6 separate regions of the Homo sapiens genome follow, and regions 1, 2, 3, 4 and 6 are each linked to region 5. The links are contacts of gene promoters, found by promoter capture Hi-C in human tissues and cell types (Jung and others, 2019). All regions are on one chromosome and are shown on one strand. Each heading gives the region's core, a stretch centred on a gene start or on the middle of the fragment in contact. The rest is flanking DNA. Distances are from core to core; before and after follow the strand shown.

The links. Contacts are between HindIII fragments. The study calls those that stand out against the background at their distance.
Region 1: a contact is called between a fragment that was not itself captured here and the fragment with the promoter of PTPRZ1 in region 5, in 4 of the 25 tissues and cell types used here (H1 embryonic stem cells, bladder, hippocampus and 1 more).
Region 2: a fragment that was not itself captured here is called in contact with the fragment with the promoter of PTPRZ1 in region 5 in 2 of the 25 tissues and cell types used here (IMR-90 fibroblasts and neural progenitor cells).
Region 3: a contact is called between a fragment that was not itself captured here and the fragment with the promoter of PTPRZ1 in region 5, in 2 of the 25 tissues and cell types used here (H1 embryonic stem cells and neural progenitor cells).
Region 4: a contact is called between a fragment that was not itself captured here and the fragment with the promoter of PTPRZ1 in region 5, in 4 of the 25 tissues and cell types used here (H1 embryonic stem cells, aorta, mesenchymal stem cells and 1 more).
Region 6: a contact is called between a fragment that was not itself captured here and the fragment with the promoter of PTPRZ1 in region 5, in 3 of the 25 tissues and cell types used here (adrenal gland, aorta and hippocampus).

The regions. Positions count from the first base shown.
Region 1 is chr7:121,800,908-121,803,670 of GRCh38, reverse strand. No RefSeq gene overlaps it. Among named protein-coding and RNA genes, the nearest start is that of PTPRZ1, 71 kb to the left of the region's middle. The HindIII fragment of the contact is 5,772 bases long and covers 1-2,763 here.
Region 2 is chr7:121,777,878-121,780,797 of GRCh38, reverse strand. No RefSeq gene overlaps it. Among named protein-coding and RNA genes, the nearest start is that of PTPRZ1, 94 kb to the left of the region's middle. The HindIII fragment of the contact is 4,451 bases long and covers 1-2,920 here.
Region 3 is chr7:121,986,290-121,989,077 of GRCh38, reverse strand. All of the region lies in intron 8 of PTPRZ1 (protein tyrosine phosphatase receptor type Z1), which reads right to left. Among named protein-coding and RNA genes, the nearest start is that of PTPRZ1, 110 kb to the right of the region's middle. The HindIII fragment of the contact is 4,212 bases long and covers 1-2,788 here.
Region 4 is chr7:121,937,751-121,940,562 of GRCh38, reverse strand. The region is part of intron 2 of PTPRZ1 (protein tyrosine phosphatase receptor type Z1); the gene reads right to left. Among named protein-coding and RNA genes, the nearest start is that of PTPRZ1, 66 kb to the right of the region's middle. RefSeq lists enhancers at 1,432-1,968, 1,969-2,505. The HindIII fragment of the contact is 4,183 bases long and covers 1-2,812 here.
Region 5 is chr7:121,871,693-121,874,466 of GRCh38, reverse strand. It overlaps PTPRZ1 (protein tyrosine phosphatase receptor type Z1), which reads right to left and starts at 1,306. Exons shown (of 30, transcript NM_002851.3): 1 at 910-1,306. The coding sequence starts at 967. RefSeq lists an enhancer at 849-1,350. The HindIII fragment of the contact is 8,425 bases long and covers 1-2,774 here.
Region 6 is chr7:121,966,924-121,969,623 of GRCh38, reverse strand. PTPRZ1 (protein tyrosine phosphatase receptor type Z1) reads right to left here. Exons shown (of 30, transcript NM_002851.3): 3 at 1,494-1,673. Among named protein-coding and RNA genes, the nearest start is that of PTPRZ1, 95 kb to the right of the region's middle. The HindIII fragment of the contact is 4,209 bases long and covers 1-2,700 here.

The DNA of each region.
Region 1 (2,763 bases), core at 195-2,694, 71 kb after region 5:
ACCAGTTCCCAAAAAGTACTGATTCTACCAAAGATAAACGATTTCAAAATCGGGTGGTTTTTAAATCTTCTATAAACTGTGTTTCTTCCTCAAATATACGTTGTGACTATTTCTCCACTATATCATTGTGGCAAACATCATAATATTTATTTAAATGGTTCTCTCTCTTCTCTCACTATAAATGGTGTTAGAAGAGACTTGAAAGGGAGATTGCTTGAGTTTCTGTGTCACTCTCCACAGCTGCTCCTAGTCGTTGAGGTTTATACCACCATTTACAAAGAGCTGTTATATCTAGATACATCATATTTAGAGGCAAATGTTTTCTAAATCCAGTTCTACCTCTACTGACAAAGAAAAGGGTGTGCAGGAGTTGGGCTGGAGACTGGCTGCTTTCCTAAACTAAAATTGTCCAAATGGCACTTCCTGATGAGTCAAGGAGAGTCTATGGGCAGGGAGCTTGCATGTCATTACCAAGGTTACTGAAGCACTCCTTGGAGCATATTTTCAGCAGCATTGATTTTATGTAGAGACAGATGGGTTAGCTATTTTATTTAATTTGAGGGCTTCAAAAAGCTAGTCTCAATACAAATTCTATTCCTATTTATGTGATCTCAAATTCTTGCCATAGATACCTTCTAGAGATACATATCTTCTAAATAAATAAGATTTTTTCCTCTAAGCACTAGGGTTACAGATTAGCTAGCCAACACATTAGCAGGGGTTAGTTACCTAATCAATAATTAATGATATCTCTCTTCAATCAGGGGAGCATAGGTATCTGACAGGTGAATAAAAAGTGGCAGTTTATTATGAGAATTAAATAAGGCATTGCCTGTAGAGTACTGGAAACTCAGAAGATGCTGAATAAATAGTAGTTCTCATAACAGTTAGAAAAATAAAAACAGAATAAGTGATTATTAGGTTTCAAAGTCAAGCTGGAAAAGCTCTTTATGACAGTGCTTCTTAAATTCTATGCAACTGCAATGAGAACCAGACATTGCTGTCCCATATGCCTCTGCAGTCCCAGGAGCTCCTGAAAAGAAGTCTGAGGTGGTTTTTTTCCTATCATTTCTTATTCTAATGCCATTCACATGAGAATATACATGATTAATATCAGATCAATGATAGTTATGGAGAAGAGAACACAAAAAATACCAGGTAAGCTTTTGGAGGCAGGAGTAGTTTATTCTGTCTGCTCTAATTACCCTGGGTAATTAGAAAAGGAAAAATAATTCTATATAGGCCACTGAATGAGATCTCATTTCCTATGAGAGATAAGATCCAGCTTCCTCTGGAAAATCACCAAATCAAACTTGCTTCATCACTTACTGCTGCCATAAGCTCTTTAGATGAGTTGGGAAGATAGGTTCTTTTCATCTAAAGCCCTTGCCCCTGGACAAATCACTCAACCTCTGTGAGTCTTGGTTTTCTCATCTATGAAATGAGCATAATGTCAACATTATCTACTTCATCAATTGTTATGAAAATCAACTGAGGTAATATATGACCTTTTATTAAAAAAACACTTATGAAACAAAATGTTTCAGGTAATCTACTGGGCATTGAAGGCACTAAACACGAGTAAGACATAGTCTCCCCCTCACACAGGGAGTCACACACATAAATAATGGCTGCTTATGATAAAAAAAAATACCATAATGGAGATACAACAGAAACCCATCTGTCCATTAAGTTAGGACTGATAGAAGAGTGGCTATCAAAAAGTTCATTTAAGTAGAATATCATATGAGTGATGTATGTGTGTGTGCATATGTGTGTGTGTATATATATATATATCTTTAACTTAACCCAAACAAATACACATTTGTTCGTCAATTTTTTATGTTCTACATAGTTCCCTGTGCATGGATCTACTGATTGGAGTTCTTAGTTCCATTTCTTCCATAAACCATACCTATAAGATACTATGCATGCTTCCCAATAAGGACGGTATTGTTAAAGTAGAATGAGAGCTTAAAAGAACCGTGGAGAACTAATTTGCAAAGACACTTATAAATCCAGTAGTTTGGAATAGACAACACAGACAGCATGTCATTTTCAGTTGTACCCATAAGGGAGATAAATAACTTAAAGGAAAAAAGCAGCTGTTGAGGTGTTGGGGAAGGTAGAAGGGCTTTTGAGGAACAGGAAACAAGATATGGAAATCAGAAAGGGATGATTCATGGAAGATATGCTTCAGGCACACTTTCCCAACACCCTTGGGAAATGTGGCCAAAGGATAGATGCCTGAGAGAAACTGAACAGATAGGTATGATTTTAATCACCATGTTCAATTTTTCAACAACTCTAACCTATTCATGCTGGATCATCTAAACTTTCTGAATATTCAATTTATCTTTATGTCACTATGTCCAAATTTCTGAACAGATTCATCTACCATACCTACTTCCATACATGGGAAAAAAGAGAGGTAAAAAAAAAATCCATATAGACATATTTCTAGCCTATGGAATTGAGGCAGAATTCACTGACCTCACCACTAGTGGACTGAGAAAATGCAAGGCCCATTGACCTGGGGCAAGGCAAGCATAAACGTAAGCTTCCACCAGTCATCTTGCTGAAAAATTGTGATTGCAAAAAAGCTGTTGCATAGCACCTTGTAATGTTAGAAGGCTGATTTTCACCACCATGCCTTCCCTTAGGGATCACTCCTTACCTGACTAAAGTCTTACTCCTTTTTCAATAGGAGCTCAAATGCCACCTCTCCACAAACAGTGATCCTTGACCTCTATCTCATTGTCC
Region 2 (2,920 bases), core at 30-2,529, 94 kb after region 5:
AAACCATTGATATTTATATACTTGATATTAGCATAAGGATGATTTTTAGAGTTTTAATTACAATATTACTAAACATGCAGAGTAATTTTTAGTTCTTCTGAAAGCAAGCATTCCATGTCTTTATGTGCTTCCTCATTTTAAAATAATGTAAAATGTATTTCCTTTGGCAGAAGGTGCAGTAAGATGAAAACAATTTCCCTAAGTAGGGAGCTCATTCATTCATGTACTCAGAACCTAGAAGGTACTCAATAAAATGCTCGTTAAATGAATGAATTCTTTCAACTACCATATACTGTCTCCTAGATTTAAAGGGTTCATATTTAAATGACCTAACGTTAATCAAGATTTGAAAAATGGCTGGTGCCTGCCTGTGAATGAGAAAATAATTTTTAAGATGAGTCTTTCAAACTATTGAGCATTTTTAGATTTTAGGAGGGTTTTACAATATCTCTTCTTATTCCTAGTTGCAGGCATAGTGATATTCCCCATCATGTGGCAATGCCCAATAAATGTTCGTTGAATTTAGGGATAAATTGGGACTTTTTATGAGTTCCTCCTTTCATCTGAAGTTATACATACTTTGTTTATGTTTAGGTTGACAATGTATTTGATTAATGACTTGGATTGTCATCAGTATAAAAAAATGACCTTTGATGACTACTAAGCATGAGATCCTCAAGACAAATTAAAAAAAACAGACTACATAAGAAGTAGAGGACATTTTGTCATCTCAGGATGGACATAACCTATAGTCATTATACAGCCAAAGATAGAAATAATAAGCAGGCCAGTAATAAGCATGGCCAGTAAAAAGGACAAAGAAGGAATTTGAGGTTGTGATAAAAGCACATAGAGGAGATGATTAAGATATATGTGGGAGGTGATGGTTTCCTTCATTCAGCTAGAGCAAGGGTATATTAAAGGGTGATGAGATATTTGGTTAGAAAATATGGAGGTTGTGGACCCCATTGATGAAGGACCTCAGACACCAGACTCAAGAATTTACATGAGATGTCACAGTAAAGGGAATGTGAGTCTAGGAAACTGATGTGATGAAAGCAGTGTTTAAAAGATAATCCTGGCAGGTGTGTGCAGGATAAAATGGCAGGCTCAGAAGCTAGAGACTTAGGATATAGCTAGGGTTTGGCCAGCCCTTGGGAGGAGTTTAGGGAGATGAAGAAAGTACAAATACATGAGGTGGAGCAGGGTCAGCATGTAACTGATTGAATACAGGCAGATTTTGGGTGCTAGTTAAGGACTAGGGACGTTTGGCTGGGTTTAAGGCTTGTTTACATGTCAGATGACAGACTCCTAAGGGACATGCCCTCTGAAATAAATTATGGGAAAGAATTAAAAGCTAAGACATAAATTATAAATTTAGGGAATCACCAGCCTAAGTGTGACAGCTGAAACTGAGAGAATGGGTAACCATAGAGAGTATATAGAAAGGGGGGAACAAAATATCAAATAAAACTTTGGTTGGCTTCACACTATGGGTCATAAAGAGGGGAGGAAATGGGAAAGAGTGAAACTTTAGCTGAGGAAATAGGAATATTATGTTTTAAGAAGAGAAGAATGAATTCAAGTAAACAGTGGCCAACTGGGTCAACTGTAGTCAGGGAGACCAAAAGCAAAGTTGGAAATGTGAACGCTTGGGGAGAATTCATTCATCTAGGGGAAGAAGAGAGAGAAGGAATAGTTTTCGTTATTTTTTTCACAAACTTTTAAAAAATGTTTCTTCCTGAAAAATATGAGAGTGGACACTGAACATTTTGAATGCTTTCAAAAAGATTAATGCAAATCTTAATATAAGGGGATTATATGGTGATGTACAGACTTCGTGCTTAACAATATTGCAGCTGAAATCTATGCGTGAAAAAAGTAGATGATTATAATCCTTTGATGCTGAAGACAAACAGTTCAATCCAACTCCCAAATGGAAGAAAGAGATATACCTTTACCTTTCGAGGGGATGAGCCACGTTTTTAGAGAGGAGTTCTTTGCTGGTTGCGGTATTCTTGGTGACTTCATACAGAAGTTGGTGGATATATTTCTGTTCTTTTGCATAGTTTTCAGAGGATTGAAAAGGGAATAGACAAAAAGAATTTAAATTATTTTTTCTAAGCTCCGTCAGACTACATAGGAAAAAGATGTAAAAGCAAGTCAAAAATTGAAGTTGGAAGAAAGTTGTGACATATTCCTGGCTCTGTGACTTTGATGTTTACAAAGATGGTAAAACAAAGATAGATTTGTGTATCAAAAATATGAGTATATATGTATTTGATGACAAATAGTAAGGGATATTTAAAGACATTTTTGCAATATGTGGTAAAACAGGGATCCCTACTAAACTGATGATTTGTAGTCCATTTTCTTACCCAAGCTTGTTGGTAGTTTAAGGTTAACAAGGCTGCAAGTTATTTGCAGTTAACTCTTTGTGGTTCCATTGTCAAATATGTACAAGATGCTGCTCAATATTTATAGAGGTAGCTGGTTTACTAAAGTTTCACCCTGGTAGAGCCAAAATATAACAGAGTTTTCTTTTCTCCAATTGCTCTTTCAACCATATTCTGTTCAATCACTTTTTCCAGGCTTCTTAGAAATATTTTAGGTTGTTTCCGTAACTCTCCATCCACTTCAAGGTATTAAAACATGGATTCCACTCTAAAATGAAAGTTCTGTTACAAGCCCAATCAGCACACTTCAGGTCTTTTTTTCTTGTATTTGCCTAATGGTCTGAGTTTGTACTGTGTAGGTCTGTGTATTGGTTCTGTTCTTTGTTTCTTTTTTCCTAATTCTGTTCCTTTCCTTTCTGGTTTACTTTTCTCCTACACTGGCACCTGGGAAGAGAAATGTGAGAAAGGGCACTTGCATTCCAAGGCTGGCTCTTTCCTGGGATGCAAATGTGAATTTTTAAGGT
Region 3 (2,788 bases), core at 16-2,515, 110 kb before region 5:
TACAGAGGATCAACAGAGTCAAAATGAAGAATGTAAATTATTTGCTATTTTTTTCAGTCACAGAGGAAACTATTTCATAACAATTCTGTCATAATACTGATACTATCTTTTTAAAATTAGAATCTTTCTTTTCCTGGAATGATCTTTAATTTTGAACATGAACTGTACACACATGCTAATCCTACTGTACTGTATTCTTCTGAAGGCTTTGCAAATTTTAAATTATTTAAAGGATGTTCAGCAAGAAGAACTTGGCTCCAACCTGTCTGGAAATCTAAAGCCAGTCATTCCTTCTGTGTTTGTTGCCAATAACACATATGCTCTTTTTAACCCCAGAGGCTTAGACATGAGTAAGCTTTGGCCAATGTTTTAATTCATTCACTTATTCACCATTCATCAAGGAATCAAAGGGCTCTTACTACCTGCCAGGTACTTTATCAGATGTTACAGGTAACACTGAGATCAATTAGACAGGGATCTACTAAGAAACTAAGGCATGCACATAAACACCCCTGAAGCAAGGCAAGAAAGGCAAAGTGCCACAGCTGCAGGTCAGGGATTATGATGGTTCAGAAGAAAGAGGAATCAGAAAGGCCCTATACGCATAAGGGCATATTAATTATTTGACAGTGGTTTGTATTAAATCCAAAAAAGAATCGACTGAATATGTAACTGTATGGATGAGACTCATCCAACCAACATGACCTGACTTTTCTATTTCATTGCTGTCTCAAAATGATATATTTTGACAATGATTGAAACTTTAAAATCATAAATGTGCATATTAGTCTATGTAACCAGAAAAAAAAAGTTCTGTATCATCTCTGATCCCCCCTAGAAGGGGATATGTTTTGGCAAACGAAGGGCCCCTTTTAAAAAATATTTATGTATTTATTTATTTTTACTTCAACTTTTATTTTAGATAGAAGAGCACATATGCAGGTTTGTTACATGAGAATACTAAAAGATGCTGAGGTTTAGAGTACAAATCCCATCACTCAGCTAGTGAGCATTATATTTGATAGGGAGACTTTTTAACTCACCCACCTCTCCACTCTCTCGTACACCACAGTGTCTACTGTTCCCATGTTTATGTCTATGTGTAATTAATGTTTAGCTCCCACTTATAAGTGAGAACATGAGGTACTTGGTTTTCTGTCCCTGCATTAGTTCACTTAGGATTATGACCTGCAGCTCCATCCATCTTGCTGCAAAAAAACATGATTTCATTTTTTATGACTGTGTAGTGTTCCATAGTGTATATGTACTACATTTTTTTAATCTACCACTGAGCACATGGGTTGATTCCATATCTTTGCTATTGTGACTAGCACAGCAATGAACATATAAGTGCATATGTCACTTCTTAGAAGAAGGCATACAACTGCTAAGAAACATATGAAAAACTACTCACCATCACTAATCATCGGAGAAATACAAACCAAAACCACAATGAGATACCATCTCATACCATTCAGAATGGCTATTATTAAAAAGCCAACAAACATTGCATCTAGTGAGGCTGCAGGGAAAAGGGAATGCTTATACACTGTTGGTGGGAATATAAATTAGTCCAGCCATTGTGGAAAGCAATCTGGAGATTTCTCAAGAACTTAAAACAGAGCTACCGTTTGACCCAGCAATCCCATTACTGGGTATACACCCAAAAGAAAATAAATCATTCTACCAAAAAGGGCCTTTTTTGATTGCTGAGCTCATTAGGATGAGCACGGGCAGGCAAGTTTGAAGGACCTGGGACAAAGCTAATTTTCCTGCCTTAAGAAGACGTGAAGACTTGGGTGGGATGAGGGTAGCAGCTGAGACTCTGTGAGGGGAACTGACCAAAGAGGAGGGTCAAACAATCTGAAGGCAAAGACTCTAAGGCCCAGCAAGGGAGACTGCAGAAGAGATGTGTTTCTGCTAACATAATTTTAGAATAAAAACTGATGGCCATAAAGATACAAAACACTAATAAAAACTAGGATTGTCTTTTGAGCACTTTTATTTATCCTAAGGATATACAATATAAGCGGATAACACTATATAAGCAATATTGTCTAAGCTGTAGGCAGATATTTTGATGAGATGCTGAGTTTTGTAGCCTCTCCCCATCACTCCATAAATATTTAGTCAAAAATACAAACATAACAAAGTAGTTGGTGTGACTGGATTTTCTTGAGGAAGCTGGGGAAGGCACACATATAGGATAAGTAGACAACAAAAACAGCCTGTAAATGTGCATTTTTATTGTTAAACTTTCTAGTTTTTCCTTAAGTATTGCATATTTAAGTCCCTTCAATTTAAATGAGTGAGTCTATTTTGAGTTGCTGTTTTTCTAGTTAGTTCTGCCATTTATTTTGGAACCAAACCACAGACAAATAGGTGATAAATAAATTATTATTACTATGGCAGTCATAATAGTATTGCAGCAGGGATGTGAAATTCTGTGACAATATACACACATAGTCTAAGGGAATAAAATCGATTCCTACAAGCTCCATTCAAGAAAATTATTTTCCTTACTTTATAGGTCCTATCATGTATTTCTAGAACCCAAAACACCAAGTAGTTAAGAAAGTGTTGTTTCTGTGTTTGACCTTAGGATAAACAAAACACTCAAAATCCATTACTATTTTTTTGAAGCTTCATGTCTTTAAAGTCATCAGTTTTTTATGTAAGCAGAAATTATGTTCCTGTATAAATGTCAAGTACAGTGGACAGAAGTTTGCAAAGCTTTAGATTCAGGGAGACTTGGGTTCAAATACTGACTCCATTCCTTTCTAGTTGT
Region 4 (2,812 bases), core at 59-2,558, 66 kb before region 5:
AAAAACTTTGGGACAAAAAAGATGACATGTAAGATGGAGCCCAGATTAGAAGGAAAGAGTAGGACTGTCTCTGGAGCTTGTATTCCCATCAGACAAACTAACAAAAGAATCCCCACTACAACCTGCTTCATTAAAATACATCCAAGTCCATAGTCTTTATCTCACTATGAACTCCCCAGAACTATGTGTGACAATGTTGATTAATCCTATCAACTTGAAGCTGTACCCCTCTTGGAGTAGGTAAAGCTCCTTTTCTCATACCCCTCTCTTTTGGACTCTTTTACTAGTCCCTTTTCCTTTCGTTTCCTAACTAGTGTGCTGATGTAAAATCATGCCTAACATCTCTTAAATGCAAAGAAGTCAACAGTTAAAATGTAAGCCATTGCCAATCAAACTATGGCATAAATCTTGTTATCCAGAATTTTCAATAGGGTAAGTGTATGGGAATTAATTCAGTGGGCCCCAAGAAGCTTGTCTCATCACATTCCTAATTTTCTGTCCAAAAGCAGGAAGAATGCGGTAGAGGCTGGAGCACAGTGATTTCTCCTTCACCTACAGATCTTAGGATAGCTGCTCCCTTTGCCTGGCACAATTTTTCACCCATGTTGATTTAACTCCTATTTATGCTTTATCTGAATCTAAAGTCGCTTTCTCTGGTAAGCCTTCCCTGAAACTCTTAGGCCAATTAGGGTTCCGTACCTTACATTAACACCATCTCCATGAGGTATTTACCATGCTTTAAAAAAAAAATCACGCTTAATCACTATTGTTTGCATACTTGTGATTACTTACACTCATCACTGCATCTCTGATGCCTAGTACAGTGTCTGGCTTACGCTGTACAATCCAATGAGTATTGATTAAACTAATAATATCCACACTTTAAATTTTCCTTTGTCAGTAAGTTTAAAATATCATTAAGGTAGAAGGCAAGCTAGGGAGTTGATGAGAAGTTTACTCCTTCATATTCTAACACAAGTTGACTGAACATAAAAATCTGAATGATATATGAGTATGTTATATGCATAAATACAACTGATCTTCAAGAACAAACTTTTAGGGTCTTGGAAAAGAAAAACTACATGTCATTTATTTATTTTTTTCAAAGTGCTGCAAATAGATCTTACTTCCTAGATATGCTAATGAAGTATGAAAGAATGGAAACTACAGAGTTTAGAGGTAATATATTTTGGCATATGCCAAGTTTTGGATTTGCTTTGGCACTGGTTCTAGGTGGCTCTGCCTTTGTTTCAATTTCCAGGTGGCAAAGCACTATAAAATGCAGCCTTCCCTGTTTTCCAATTCATTACGATTTTTAGCTACTTCTTATATGCTAAGCCTTGCTCTGAACTCACTCCACAGTGTTTATCTTTTGTATAATCTATTTGTTGCAAGAAGGATTTGGGATGATCCCCTGAAATTATGTTATTACTAGTCACAATTCCTCTCAGGCAAAATTATTTCTGTTCCCCATGAGACTGGAAATAAAGTAACAACTATCAAATATATATTGGGCTCCTACTATGTGTGAGTCTCTGCCTCAGACACATGGATAGTCAAAGTTTTGCCCTGGTAGAAGCTTATTTTTTCTGTTGCCCTCACACTGATTTAGTTACATTTACTTAGAAAGATATTCACAAACTACTATTGAGATAAAAGCAGGTACTACTATTGAGATAAAAGCAGTACATCTAGTAAGAGGCCATCAGAATTCAGGATGCATAATTAGGAAGTGTAAGGACAAATAAAAAGTAAAAGTAAGAGGCTTAATTCTCCCCATTGAAAACCAGGAAGACACTTTTCTCTCCACCCCCACCCCGTCCTTTTTTAAAGAGCATTTGCTTTAGAAAAGAGATCGTTGTAAATACTTTCTCCTTGTTTTGCAATGTATATCAATCCTTTTGAAAGCTAGATAGGCCCTTTGTCAGCTTTATGATCCAGGATGTTTTTCTCAAGGACCCGGGGGCCATCCTTATGAAATGCAAACATCGAGGAAGATGGTGCTCCACTCTCCCAATTTCTATGGGAAGGCAGGAGCTTAACTTCCATGAGCCTCTGGCTCCAACTTGTAAAGCTACCTCTTGTCTCAAAAATATGAAGTTTATTTTCCCTCTGGATGAAGCCAATAGGGTAACACAAATAGTCACTCCAATTACCAGTTAAAGTTTAGCTGAACCATGTGTGACAAAGTTGCTGCCAAGTCCTTCTACTTAAAGACAAGTTATTGTTTATCTTGAAAACATGCAATGGGTTGTACCTATTTGGCTATATGGGGGGGTGAGATTTCTTCCTATCTTCGCAATCTTTCAGTGATTGCCTATGATGTGTATTACATTCTGGTTTAATGCTTGTTTGATAATAAAACTGCTTTTTGTTGTTGTTGTTATTACATTTATGGAGAGGATTTCTGAGGTGGGAGATTTTGTTTTTAATTATATTTCCCCAACAGAAGACATTAAGAGTAGTTATCTCTGGAAGGTGAAATTATATAGATAAATAGATAGATATTAATAGATAGGTAGATAAATATATATAAACATATGAAATATGAAATATATGATACATACATGATTTTCTTAGATGAACACACTTTTATAATGATAAATAAAAAAGTGTTTTCCTTGTGGGAAAAAAATATCAGATTGGCACTTACAATACTTGTGAAGATAATGGCTCAGATCTCTACACTTTAAGGATCTCGGCATTAATGGAATCCGATCAGAAGGCATCTACCATCTTATCACACTAAGTCTCCTCAGCCTGTGTGTATATAGGCTCCTTTTTATTGGTCATCAGAAGTTATTCTACTAAA
Region 5 (2,774 bases), core at 57-2,556:
GTTAATGCGTAAACCCATTATATTCTATCGCGATGGAAAATCATGAAGGAAAAAAAGCATTTCTTTAATAAAACGCAAAAGTCCAATCTTGCACTTCTCGAAAATGACTGGAAAACTTGAGTCTGCATCGCAGGTAAAGGGAATGCTTAAACTGGCTATTGCTGAATGCAATTTCAGTTTTAAATGTAACCTGGAGGGTGCAGATGAAAAATGAAATCTGTGAATAAGTATATCAACCTGCAGCTCTCCTCTGACTTTGGCAGCACTGACCAAACCTAGAGATTTAGATGGAACTTTTTTTTTTGTAAGTAATTGCGCAGACTTGAATATGACTAAATTGAAAGTAATAAAAAAAACCCTGAAAAGTCAGGTTGGTGCTTGTGCCTGTTACTACCTTTCAGGTGTGTGTGTGTGTGTGTGTGTGTGTCTGCAATTCACACCAGACACGTGTACTTTCCATTTAAGCCCATCATACCTATAGCATAAAAATGAACAGCAAAAAAGACAGTACAGTACACAGCCCCGCACCACAGCTGTATTTCTGGTCATTTATCTTCCTATGTATATCTAAAAGGCGATTTCTACACTTTGCAAAAGAGGAGAGAAGAACGGTGGCGGCAGGGATCCGAGTAGCCCTCCGTCTCCAGTAGCTCCGTCTCCTGGGGCCCGGGGCACGAATGCCCGCGGGCCGATGGAAGGGGCGAGGGCGCGGGGCGGGGAGGGGGCGCGCAAATCCCACGCAGCTGCCTGCACCGCGCGGCCGCCCGCTCCGTGGGAGCCCAGTTGGCTGTCCCTTTTTCCTCCTGGCTAGATGGCGGCGGCGGCGGCAAGTCGCGGACACGCTGAAATGCTCCCACCCTCATCCCACCGATCCCGGAGCTGAAACCCCACCGAGCTCTTCTCACTCACCCAGGCGGCAAACACAGAGGAGCTGAATGCAAGCGAGGAAACGCTTTAGGATTCGCATTTCCAGACGGTCTGCGGCCCCTCGCCGTGCGGCTCCTCTGCTTCTCAGAGTGGAGAGGGAGGGGGAGCGAAGGAAATGTTTTTTTTGTTTGTTTGTTTTAATCCTCCAGTGTATAGATCGAAGTGAGATCGTGCGTGCGTATGTGTGTTTGTGTGTGTGTGTGTGTGTGTGAGAGAGAGAGAGACAGAGACAGAGACAGAGAGAGACAGTCAGAGACAGCGAGAGAGGAATAATCTGGAGAAAGCCGCACGGTGGTGGGGCCCGGGGCCGCTAGCCGAGGCGCATGTCCTCCGGCGTGCGGGACTTTGCCTCTTTCGCCGGCTGCGGCGGCCGCGGTCTGAGCGCTCCGAGAGCAGCGAAGCCTCAGTGCCGGGTGCGCGCTCCAGCCCGGCTGTGCGCGCCGCGGCTCCTGGAGGGGGCGGGGGCGCAGGACCGCTCCGCTGGGAGCGTGCCTCGGACCCGGGGTCGCGCGGGGGGCGGAGGGGCGCGGCTGCCGCTCTGGGTCCGGATCCCAGGGTAGCAATTCACACACCGACAATCCTCCCTCTGTCCGCTGCCAGTGGTTTCGCTGCCCTGGAGTTAGAGGGATCCGCTGGGGTTTCCAGTGTTCGCAGAACATTGGAACTCCTTCATCACTTCGGAAGGGAAGGGAAGGGAAGGCCGGACACCCATTGTCCCGCACAGCCAGAGGTTGACCTTTGAGTTTCACCTCTAAGAGTTTTTTTCATTTTATTGTTTTCTGCAGATGCTTAAGTGGGTCCAATCAGAATGCGGTGGGGGCGCCTGGGTACATTGTTTCCCTCCCTTTTTTCTTTCCATTTTCCTAATAAAGCAGTAGACCCCATTGCCTTTGGGAGAGTTGACTCCAAAAAATCTCCAGCCCTGATTGTGACCAGTCTGACCCTGCCCTTTCCCTAGACCCCAACGAAACTGCCGTGCTGGGCACAGCTGTCTGGGGGGACTTTCAACACGGCGGTGGTCCTGCCAGACCGAACCACACAAGTGCCTCCTCCCACAGGGTCGAACGGGAAGATTTTTTATTGCTTGATTGAAGGGTATGCAAAAAATGTATAATGCATACCTTCTGCTGCCTTAGAGCTGGAAATGTCACCCTCATGTGCTCTTTTCTTTGGTGGTGTTCAGAATTAGACTGTGAGCGCCTTGATGGCAGGGAGTTTACCTTTATTACTATAACCCCAGATCCTAGCAAAATGGCCTTAAAAAAAATCAATAGGTGTTCCCTGAATATTTGTTGAATTAATTTGAAGCCAAAAGGAAATAATGAGAAGGTAATTGGTGGTAGTCTCTACACTGAAAATTTATGAGATTTTCATTTATATGATATCCTTTAACTATTAGTACATGTTTTTCGTATATGAGACCCACTTTAGAGCCTTTTAGGAGTCCCATCTAAGGCACAGAAAGCCAAGTTGTGGAATTATCCCATGTATTCTTAGTAACAATTTGAAGTAGGTATCTGTACAGTGTATACTCTTGTGTCCTGTTCTTGTCTCAAAAATAGTATTCTAGCTTTAAAAATTTTAAAGAAAACTTCCTGCACATAAAATTGGGTTCTGAATGTATTTCAAGTGTTACTACGAGTTCTTGCTAATATCCCAGCCTGTGAACATTTGGCTAAATGTGCAAGCTAATGGCAGTTTGCTGTTGCTTCAGGAATAGATTATAGTCATGTAATAACAGATTTTGAAACCATTTAGTGTTTATTCAGAAACACATATCAATATTAAGAAGTTGATCCTTGATCTTATTCTTTCCATGAACAGAAATAGAAATGCTACAACTTTTA
Region 6 (2,700 bases), core at 71-2,570, 95 kb before region 5:
CATATCAGGCACTGATGTAGAAAAATCTCTACTTTCATGAGATTTTTTTTTTTTTTTTTTTTGAGACAGAGTTTCGCTCTTGTTGCCCAGGCTGGAGTGCAATGGCACAATCTCAGCTCACTCAACCTCCGACTCCTGGGTTCAATCAATTCTCCTGCCTCAGCCTCCCGAGTAGCTGGGATTACAGGCATGCACCACCATGCCTGGCTAATTTTTTTATTTTTAGTAGAGGTGGGGTTTTGCCATGTTGACCAAGCTGGTCTTGAACTCCTGACCTCAGGTGATCCACCCACCTTGGCCTCCCAAAATGCTGGGATTACAGGCGTGAGCCACTGCGCCCAGCAGGAGTTGTTTTTTGTTTGTTTGTTTGTTTTGATTTGATTTTTTGGATAGGATCTCACTCTGTTGTCCAGGCTGGAGTGCAGTGGCATGATCTTGGCTCACTGCAGCCTCCAACTCTTGAGTTCAAGTGATTCTTGTGTCTCAGCCTCCTGAGTATCTGGAATTACAGGAGTGTGCCACCACACCCAGCTAATTTTTGTATTTTTAGTAGAGATGGGTTTTTGCCATATTGGCCAGGCTAGTCTGGTACTCTTGACCTCAAGTGATCCAGCCACTTCGGCCTCCCGAAGTGCTGGGATCACAGGCGTGAGCCACAGTGCCTGACTACTACTCTCTTGAGTTTTGAAATTAAATTATTATGTTCAAATAATTACATTACCTAAATATAGAAAATATAAAAAAAATTCACCAATGATAAAGCTTATCCCCATAGAGCTACTATTATAATTTTGAATATTTTTCTAATCTTTGTCTTACGTGTATATTTGCCTTTACATAATTTCCCAAAATACAATTTTTAAAAAAACTAGAATATCAAAAAAGAAAAGGTGTCACTTTTTGGAAATTATTTATCTATGTATAGCTTATTAGAATTTGTACTTAAATTTTAATGTATTATATTTTGCTTTTTTTTAAAAAAAAAAAAAGATAGGCTCAATAAAAAGACACTTAGAGAGGGTTTCCTAAGGATGGGATACAACTTTAAACCTTCTATATAGAAGAGCTAGGAATTTATTTTCTTAAATTTCAATTATAGCCAATTGCTTTTTTCATATCCAAATACTGACTATAACATGAGGCTAGGCAGAAAAGATCAAACTATAATGCTCAAGAAAAAGAAATCCTGATTGACTAAGTAATTGACTAAATTATATTAGCTGTAAATCACATTATCACATCTTCTAGAGGCAGCATCATTATTGTTACCTTGTAGGAAAACATGACATGATGACATTGGTCATTTTTTTTTTGTACAAATTGTCAAAATATTGTCTAAATTTCCCATTTTCTCTGCTCCATTTGGTTTCTTCTACATGTAACTTCTATCTAGTTCATAGTACACTATTCAAAGGAAAATGAGATGAAACTAGTCTAAACATACTCCAGGTCTGAAAAATATATTAAAGGCAAACAGAATGCAAATATTTTACCTGTTTTCCCAGTGTTATGAATGAATGTGTTTTCCAATGATGTTTTATCCCAACCCTGAAATTTAAGTTTCTTAAGATTCACATTTACTTGTGTAAGATCTTCATCAATATTGATAGGAGATTGTTTTGGGCTATTACATGTTGGATATTTCTTTCCCCAATTTTTTTGATTCAGTGCTCCTAGGGAAAAGAAGGAGTAAGAAATTTAGTTTCTTAAATTACCATGCAAAAATTAAACTTTACATTATAGTTAATACATTACATAAAAATAGATGCAATAGTAGAAAAATGTTTGACATCTTTGAACTAATGCATGAAATAATTATGCCTGTATTTAGATTCTGGATTTCAATACGAAACACTACAAAAGGTCTGTAGAACAACCATGCCACTATAAAAAAACAAGTCTATAGAACAACAACCAAGGTTTGGTACAACTTTAGTCTACAACATCTTCTTTTTGTGATCAGGGAGTCAATGAGAACTAACTTTTATGCAAGCTTGATCTAATGGCCACCTCTCATAATGTGACAAGTTCAGGGTTCAGCAATGGCTTTGTCCAGTCATCACAATTCTTTCAAATCAACAAAAAGCTTAATTGTCCTGTAAGGTAGTTAGTCCTAGCCCAGGATTCCAGATTGAAAGGAATCCAGATATAGGAGTAAAGTTCTGACTTCCTCAACACTCTCCATAAAAGTAGCTGCCTTCAGACCTACTGTCACCCTCTGTCATTGAAAGATTTGGTTTAATTTCCATCTGTTTGGGATCTTATTTACAAAAACATAATCATCAGGCTGTCCTTAAAATATCTCCTTCCCATTTTTCTCTGGTCGTAAAGCCTAGCACATTTTATTGTTTAACAATAAGAAAAGCAAAACAGGGATTTCTATAAAGATTTTTGCTTAAAATAAACTAAATTTTCACATGTTCCACAGTATGAAGCGTCCTCTAAACCCAAACTGCCCTTTGTTGCCTTTATTTCACCCCTACCTGAAACCATGAATCACCTCCCGTAATCTTATTTCACTGCATGTTAACTTAGCACCCAAGCAGTGCTAAGCACAGGTATATTCTACTTAAAGTTCTTTTAAAACATTTGAAATATTGAGAGTCCAAGTCTCTGGTTAAACGCTAGCATTTCCATGGCCATCACAAGGAAGAAAGGAGTGGCAGTGTAGTTTTCATTTTATATTCTTCTGAATGCTTT